Linked DNA regions of Homo sapiens: all the other regions are linked to region 1. Evidence: promoter capture Hi-C in human tissues and cell types (Jung and others, 2019). All regions are on one chromosome and are shown on one strand. Each heading gives the region's core, a stretch centred on a gene start or on the middle of the fragment in contact. The rest is flanking DNA. Distances are from core to core; before and after follow the strand shown. Region 1 holds the start of RRP36 (ribosomal RNA processing 36). Region 2 overlaps ABCC10 (ATP binding cassette subfamily C member 10). Region 3 overlaps UBR2 (ubiquitin protein ligase E3 component n-recognin 2).

Region 1 (2,802 bases), core at 81-2,580:
ACCTGGTAACATGATGAGACCTGGCTGGGCGAGGTGGCTCACGCCTGTAATCCCAGCACTTTGGGAGGCCGAGGCGGGCGGATCACGAGGTCAGGAGATAGAGACCATCCTGGCTAACACGGTGAAACCCCATCTCTACTAAAAATACAAAAAATTAGCCGGGCGTGGTGGCGGGCGCCTGTAGTCCCACTACTCGGGAGGCTGAGGCAGGAGAATGGCGTAAACACGGGAGGCGGAGCTTGCAGTGAGCTGAGATCGCGCTACTGCACTCCAGCATGGGCAACAGAGCGAGACGCCGTCAAAAAAAAAAAAAAAAAAAAGGTGAGACCTTGTTTCTACATTAAATAAATAAATAAATAAATAAACAAACCCATCCGTGCAGGCGTGGTGACGCGCCTGCAGTCCCAGCTACTCGAAAGGCTGAGGTAGGAGGATCTCTTGGGCCCGGGAGTTCGAGGCCGCAGTGAGCCGTCATGGTGCAACTACACTCCAGCCTGGGCTACAGGGCGAGACTTTGTCTCAAAAAAATAAAAAATATAAAAAATTTAAAAAACAGGCTGGGCGCAGTGGCTCACGCCTGGAATCCCAGCACTTTGGGAGGCTGAGGCGGGCGGATCACGAGGTCAGGAGATCGAGACCATCCTGGCTAACAAGGTGAGACCCCGTCTCTACTAAAAATACAAAAAATTAGCCGGGCGTGGTGGCGGGCGCCTGTAGTCCCAGCTGCTCTGGAGGCTGAGGCAGCAGAATGGCGTGAACCCGGGAGGCGGAGCTTGCCGACATCGCGCCACTGCACTCCAGCCTTGGCGACAGAGAGAGACTCCGTCTCAAAAAAAAAAAATTAAAAAAACAAAGTCTACGGAATCTGCTGAATTCTGATCTACTAAGCCTTCAGCAGCCATGCATGCCTTTTCCTGCCTCCATGCTATTGCACATACGTTCCCCATCGCCGAAAACCCTCATCCTGCCGTGAAGAAACTTCTCAGGATGTCCTAATCCCGGAAGCATCTACTCTCACCCCCCACTTTCCACTGCACTGGGGGCACCCCTAGTGTAGCGTCTGCCTCTTAGAGAACTTGGCAGTCTTACCGGCACCGTCTCTGCAGGCTCAGGGCCCCGCCTGGGAATCTCCTTCCCCTCCCCAGCCCGCCCTGCCCCATGCCCTCACCCCTCAATAGGTCGCGGGCCACGGCCGCGGGCTCCAGGCCCCCGCCGTCCTCCTCGCGGTCCCGGGCCCCGCGGGGACGTCGGGCCCCGGCCCCGGCCCCGGCCCCGGCGCGGTAGTTAGCTCCCGGCATCAGCTGGCAGTAGCGCTCGGAAGACGAATGGCGCCGCTTCCGCTCACGGCAGCCCCTGCCCCGCCTCTTCCGGCGTTCCCGGTCTCAACGTGGTGACGAATGGGCAGAAAACTGCGCGGTCGAGGGCCAGGGAGCCGGGCCCAAAGGATAACCCGCTCTGGAGACATTGTCGCAACCTTCTGCCCGAGTCGCAGGGTGCTGGGTTCCACGCCCGAGAAGCTTGGACCAGGCCTTGGTGGCATTTGGTTTCCTAATACCCTTGGCTGAGAAGCCAGAACCTCAGGGTGCTTGTCCTCGGCACCCTGCCCCCACTGCAAACTCCAGCCTTCTCCACCATATTCCACAAAAACACACAACACGTTTGGAGATTTTAATTAATTTTTATAAAATCTGAGCTGGCTGAACTTCAGAGTACAGCGACAGCTCAAGGAAGGGTGGGATTTATCTGCTGGTCCCCACCTCCCCAAGACGGGGAGAAGGAGGTCTCATGCCAACAGCTGCAACTCCTTTCAGCTCCCAGTCAAGGCTCAAGGCTCAAGCAGAGGGGAGGGGATAGGCAAAGGGGGAGGGGGAAGCTCCTGAGGCTCAGACACTGCTTGCTTCTCCCTTCTCCCCATTCCCTTCCCTTCCCAGCAGAACCTGGCTGGCCCTGGGCAGAGCTGAGGCCCAGGAGCAGCTGAAAGGAGGTGGATGGGGACAGAGCACCAAGGGGAAGGGGCCCTCGGCCCAAGGGGGGAGGAACCTAGCCCCCACCCCGCTACAGCTCCCCACTGAATTCACAGCACAGAGAACACCTCTCGCCCAACAACTCCACATGGAGGTATACCAAGTCCAGGGGTCAAAGGAGCAGGTGGGTGACAGATGGGCAGGGGCAGTGAAGATGACAGCAGGCTCAGGAGGGGAGGTGGCAGAAACTTCCTCCTACCCATGGGAGGAGACGATGGGGCGACTGATATTGCTGTTGGTGGTCATGGCATTCAGCTCCCACCTGGAAGGCCAACAATAAGAGACAGAAAGAAGAGGGGGCCCTCAGCCCAAGCTAAGGGATGTTTGAACCAAGCTAAAAACACACCAGTCTCTCCAACTTCCTAAAGGTCAACCACCCACAGCCACCTCTTACTTAAGAGACCTACTAGGTTGAACAATCAGAACCCACCCACCACCAAATCCAACACCACCCACTCCTCTACCTCCAAGCTCATATGGATTTCCGGTTTATGTTTATGTATGTATGTATATTGCAGTGTCCAGGCACCTGAGATCTGTGTATACATGTCAGTCAACATCCCAACCTGCCTTTCCTGCTTTGCTTAGAGCCAACCAGGCAGCCCCTCCACCTTACCCTCACCAGGAATGCCTCACCCCACCAGGAATACCCATTTTTGCTCTTAACTCCCATCCTTTTAAGGCTCTGACTCAGCACTCCTATCCTTCCTGAGGCCTTCCCCACCCACCCAACCATATTAATTTTTTTTTTGAGTCTTGTTCTGTCACCTAGGCTGGA
Region 2 (2,802 bases), core at 303-2,802, 420 kb before region 1:
GACCTCGAGCAGGACTCAAGTCCATCCTTGTAAACCTTGATTCCGACCAGCAGAGAGGGACGAATGTCCATCCCCAAGAGGACCGCCAGAGCTATGCCTGCCACTCTGTCCAGGGTTACTTCTCATTACTGCAGAGCTTTTTCTCATGCTTCGCTCAATTCCTAATATCTGGCTGGAGCTTCATTTCCTCCTATTTCTCTCCCAGTAAACTTGCAGGTGGTCACATCCCTCTGCATAAAAATCTTTCAGAGTTTAAAAATTTTTGTTTTTACAAAAAGACCATTCTAAACCTGACTCCTTTCTCTTCTCTGAAGATATGAGAATGTTCTCAGAGACCCTGGGCCTTTAAGTTCCCAAGAGCACCCAGTCACAAAGCCCATGAGTCCCAAATACACTGGCATTTTACCAACGTACTCCTTTTCCCTCCTGTTCTCCCAGTTCCTCACACCAGTTCTGTGAAGGCGGGAGGCAGCAATGACTGGCTCAGGGCACACATGCAGCAGGGGGCAGAGTCTGTACTTCACAATCCCCTGCCAGACCTGGGCAGACACCTCCCTCACACGGGGCTCCTGCCCCCATTACCAGCCCGGATGAGGCGCCCGGCCTCCATCAGCAGCACCGCGTCAGCCCTCTCCAGGTACTCAGTGCGGTGGGTGCAGAGCAGCCGTGTGGTGTAGCTCAGCATGCCCAGGATGCACCTGTGCAGCAGGTGGTTGGCCACATCTGCATCCACAGCGGCCAGAGGGTCATCGAGGAGATAGAGCTCCTTTTCCTATGGAGACGTGAGGGTACCGTGGGCACCAGGACCCAAAGGCTCTCCGGAGAAGATCTCAAAGTGATCAGAGAAGACAGTTGAGAGAAACTCTGGGGGCTACCCCTACACTAGCAGAGAAGGAGGTGAGACCTGAGGGTGGACATCCCTTCAGGCAAGAAAGAACAGCACCCCAGGGCCAGCACTCAGCTTTCCTAGGTCCCAGGCCCTCAGCCCATATAACACTTTTTTTTTTTTTTGAGACATGGTCTTGCTCTGTTGCCCAGGCTGGAGTGCAGTGGCATGAACACCACTCACTGCAGCCTCAATTTCCCAGGCTCAAGTGATCCTTCCCACCTCAGCCTCCTGAGTAGCTGGGACTACAGGTGCATGCTATCAAGCCCAGCTAAATTTTTTTGGAGACAGGGTTTCATTCTCATCACCCAGGCTGGAGTGCAATGGTGTGATCTTGGCTCACTGCAACCTCTGCCTCTCGGGTTCAAGCGATTCTCCTGCCTCAGCCTCCCGAGTAGCTGGAATTACAGGCATGTGCCACTATGCCCAGCTAATTTTTGTATGTTTTTCAGTAGCGATGGGGTTTCACCATGTTGGCCCAGCTGGTCTCGAACTCCTGACCTCAAGTGATCCACCCTCCTCGGCCTCTCAAAGTGCTAGGATTACACCAACTAACTTTTTAAAATTATTTTTTGTAGAGACAGGGTTTTGCCACATTGCCCAGGCTGATCTTAAACTCCTGGGCCCAAGCAATCCTCCTGCCTTGGCCTCCCAAAGTGCTGGGATTACAGACCTAAGCCACCATGCCCAGCCTACAAATACTTTTTAAAGGCCTTGAACTCTGCCTTAAATCTGCAAAAGGGGATGAGATGGCCAATACCTCAGGAACATGCAAGGGAGGAGGGAAGGAACCAGATGCTAAGGAAAATATTCCTATCCTCCTAACTCAGCCAAGTTCCCAAGGCTCTGGACTCCCCCCACCTCCCTGCCACTGCAACCTCCATCTTTAACTGACCTGGTAGACAGCACGAGCAAGGGCAATCCGGGCACGCTGTCCTCCGCTAAGGGTGACACCCTTCTCCCCCACCTCTGTCTGGTCTCCAGCAGGCAGGATCTGATGGAACAGGTGCCCCAGTGGGTCAGGGAGCTCCCATTACCTTCTGGCCCACTTCCTATCCCTTTGCAGGAGATAGTGGGAGTCAAGAGAAGTAGGGAGCTTGAGGAGAGTAGACTTAAATTTGGGGTGAGCTAGTCAGAGGAGACAAGACATAATTCCAATAACATCAAGCACTTATTGAACACTATGTGCCTAGCACTTTACAGGCATTCTCTCATTCAAGCCCCAATGTAATCTTATGAAGATGGTATCATTTCCTTTTCTCAGGTGCAACCAAAGCTCAGACAGATTAACTAGCTGGCCCACAGCTAGTAAGGGGCAGGACACAAGTTCAGATTCAGATTCTTAACTACTTTGTTACATTTACTACCCTTTTTTTTTTTTGAGACGGAGTCTCGCTCTGTCGCCAGGCTGGAGTGCAGTGGCACAATCTCAGCTCACTGAAACCTCCACCTCCTGGGTTCAAGCGATTTTCCTGCCTCAGCCTCTCGAGTAGCTGGGACTACAGGCGTGTGCCACCATGCCCAGCTAATTTTTGCATTTTTAGTAGAGACGGGGTTTCACCATGTTAGCCAGGATGGTCTCGATCTCCTGACCTTGTGATCCACCCACCTTGGCCTCCCAAAGTGCTGGGATTATAGGCGTGAGCCACCGTGCCTGGCCTATTACCCTGTCTTTTTAACAGGCAAGGTAGTAAGGTATCTTGGGCAGATTTGATGTAAAAGCTTTTATAGGTTTTTACTTTTTTGTGTGTGTGAGACAGAGTCTTGCTCTGTCGCCCAGGCTGGAGTGCAGTGGCATGATCTCAGCTCACTGCAACCTCCGCCTCTCGGGTTCATGCAATTCTCCTGCCTCAGCCTCCAGAGTAGCTAGGACTACAGGTGTGAGCCATGACACCCAGCTAATTTTTGTTTTTTTT
Region 3 (2,802 bases), core at 93-2,592, 330 kb after region 1:
ACCTCAATAAATGTGACTTAAAAAACAAGAGTAGGAACAGGCCAGGCACAGTGGTTCACACCTATAATCCTAGCATTTGGGAGGCTGAGGCGGGAGAATCATTTGAGCCCAAGGGTTCAAGACCAGCCTGGGCAACATAGCGCGGCTGTATCTACAAAAAAAATACAAAAATTAGCCAGGTGTGGTGGCATGTGCCTCTATAGTACCAGCTACTGGGAGGCTGAGGTGGGAGGATTGCTCGAGCCCAGAAGGTTGAGGCTGCAGTGAACCAAGGCTGTGCCACTGCACTCCAGCCTGTGGGACAAAGCAAGACCCTGTCTCTTTAAAAAAACCAAACCAAACCACCACCACACCAAAATCAAGAGTAGGAAGACAGGGAGGAGCATGTCAGAAGGGGCTTCATGAGTTCCTGGAACTAAAGACAAGAGTGGTGAAGGCAGTAGGCTGGGAGCAGTGTTACTGACCAGGAGGCAGGGTGAGTGCAATGGAAACCTTGCTGTTTTAGTTTGATGCTCTCAAGAGGATTTCAAAAAAAACAGAATTCTCATGGGCAATGACTCCCCTAGGAAGACAGTGTAGCTGCCTTTCTATGTCTCTCTCTCAAAAGCAGGAAGTGGTCATAAAAAAAAGAAAAAAAAAACCTCCAACAGCCCTGAAAAACCAGCCAGCACACTAGGGGAGTGTGTAAGGACAAGGACCTTGAGATCACCAGGTAAGGATGAACAAGAGTTTAAACCCAGACACAGGTCTTGGAGTGCCCTGTTTCCCAGTGATTTGAGTTCCAAAATGGTCCACAAAGGTCACACGCTGTCATGGCTAATGAATATGAAACTTAATCAGCTGAAATGATGATCACACTTTCTCTGAGAAGGTCAAGATAGTTTGGCTAGTGGCCATAATAATATAACCCTCTTAAATTTAAAGCTAATACAGATATCCCACTATATTTGTAGCAAGGTGACACGGGCACCTTGCTGTGGCAGGTAAATGTGTAAAATGAAACAGAAAGATATATGCTAACCAAAAGTAATGCCAACACCTAAAGCATTTATTTGGATATCTTTAAACTTTTTACATATGATACATTCCAAATTTTACAAGTTGTCCACAGATATTAAAGTTATAGCCAATTTATTAAACAGATATGATTTTCCCTGATATGGAAAGCGTATGTTATATAAACATTTCTACAATAAACATAAAACATGCGGAACAAATCATAAAACTAACATGATTTGTAAGGTAGGAAAGACAACTAGCTTAACACCAGAAAATAAAAAGGTGTGTATGTTGCAATTTCATGTAAATTCATCTTCTCCCAGGCTCTGTGATATTCTCAGAGAATGAAATCCAGAGACAACCTTTGCTAACTCCAGGCTCCTAGGAAGTCGGACCGGAAAGCTGGAGTATTGTTATGATTTGGTGAAAATGTTTATAATCCACTTGTACAGAGAGAAACCTGGTCTTATTATTTTAAATTTTAGCTTGGTGAACATATGAAAAAAAGCCAAAAGAAGCTTACCTTAAAAGCTAAAGAAACTGGATGTGACAGAGGCCAAAATAAACATGAATTATGCCACCTACAGCCCAAACAACCAGATCTTATGAATGAAGGCCAGAAAAAGGGGGAGAGAGGTGGACTCAAATGTGAATTTTCTTTCTATTGGTCCTCCTCTCAGCTGGGTGAGTCAGTCCCACGCAAGAATGGCGACGGTCATCCTCCTGTCAAGAGGGGGCGGTTCTTTCACACACTACCTTGGAGAGGAATGTGGCTTCTACATCCTCACTTCTTTTAGCTTCAGTTCCAGATTTCTGACCTTCTTCCTGTGATACTGTGGAGCATGCCTAGTTGACTGGTAGCTGAGTGGAACAAAACTTGTAGATGTAATTCAAAGAAAACTGATTGAAAGGGTCAGTTGCATTGGTTAAAAAAATCCAAGAGCCTCTTATTACTCATCTGTTCCTTAGCCCCACCTTAGACAGGCTCAGAATTTATTCCTCTACTAAGTCTTCAGTCACTCTCTGCATGTATTCAAGCTCTCAGCAGTCATACATCAAACAATAGTAGTTGTGTGGTACATAATAATTATAAGCTATTTTGTAAGTGGCTCTTGTTCTAGGAAGGCACCTCAGTAAGAACAATGATCAAAAAGAATAAAAAGCCTGGGTGCCAGACCATCCCAGGAATGCACTAAGTGAGCCAGCAAGGAAGCAGCAGCTTGTCTGTTCCAGGAAATGCTGGCTGGGTGGGAGTGGGTTCTCACCTTCTTCAGTGTTTGGCTTTAGATGATATACTCTGCCAATTTAGCCTTAGAAATAACAAGAGAATATCACTGTCTGAAACATTAGGGTATTCTAAAAGAATACAGATAAGAAAATTAGGATACTCTTTTAGAATACCTATTATTTTAAACTTAAGCTTGGTGAACATCTGAAAAAAAGCCAAAAGAAGCTTACCTTAAAAGCTCAAGAAACTGGATGTGACAGAGGCCAAAATAAATATCACTTATGCCAACCACAGCCCAAACAACCAGATCTTATGAAGGAAGGCCTCTCATCTAGATATTAGGATATCTAAAAGAATATCCTAAATTTTTAATCCATATTCTTTTAGAATATCCTAATTTTTCTTCCTAATTCTAAAAGAATATCCTAATTTTTTAGACCATCCTAAGTTTTTGGAAAGCCCTCTAAGTGAGTTTTCTCAAAGCCAAAAGTCTTGCCATAAAAAAAAAAAGAAAAAAAAAAAACCTCTAACAGCCCTGAAAAACCAGCCAGCACACCAGGAATCCACCTTCTCCC

The links. The method cuts DNA at HindIII sites, captures the fragments that hold promoters and counts their contacts. A contact is called where the count stands out against the background at its distance.
Region 2: a fragment that was not itself captured here is called in contact with the fragment with the promoter of RRP36 in region 1 in 1 of the 25 tissues and cell types used here (dorsolateral prefrontal cortex).
Region 3: a fragment that was not itself captured here is called in contact with the fragment with the promoter of RRP36 in region 1 in 1 of the 25 tissues and cell types used here (spleen).

Annotation. Positions count from the first base shown.
Region 1 is chr6:43,020,151-43,022,952 of GRCh38, reverse strand. It overlaps RRP36 (ribosomal RNA processing 36), which reads right to left and starts at 1,330. Exons shown (of 7, transcript NM_033112.4): 1 at 1,169-1,330. The coding sequence starts at 1,298. KLHDC3 (kelch domain containing 3) reads right to left here. Exons shown (of 11, transcript NM_057161.4): 11 at 1,659-2,286. The coding sequence ends at 2,220. RefSeq lists enhancers at 315-1,046, 1,429-1,478, 1,539-1,648, 1,047-1,778 and silencers at 1,129-1,198, 1,209-1,258, 1,269-1,338. The HindIII fragment of the contact is 3,944 bases long and covers 1-2,432 here.
Region 2 is chr6:43,440,940-43,443,741 of GRCh38, reverse strand. ABCC10 (ATP binding cassette subfamily C member 10) reads right to left here. Exons shown (of 22, transcript NM_001198934.2): 9 at 1,782-1,880; 10 at 583-772. Among named protein-coding and RNA genes, the nearest start is that of MIR6780B, 7.8 kb to the right of the region's middle. The HindIII fragment of the contact is 4,033 bases long and covers 1-2,802 here.
Region 3 is chr6:42,691,731-42,694,532 of GRCh38, reverse strand. It overlaps UBR2 (ubiquitin protein ligase E3 component n-recognin 2), which reads right to left. Exons shown (of 47, transcript NM_001363705.2): 47 at 1,028-2,802. Among named protein-coding and RNA genes, the nearest start is that of PRPH2, 29 kb to the left of the region's middle. The HindIII fragment of the contact is 3,806 bases long and covers 1-2,802 here.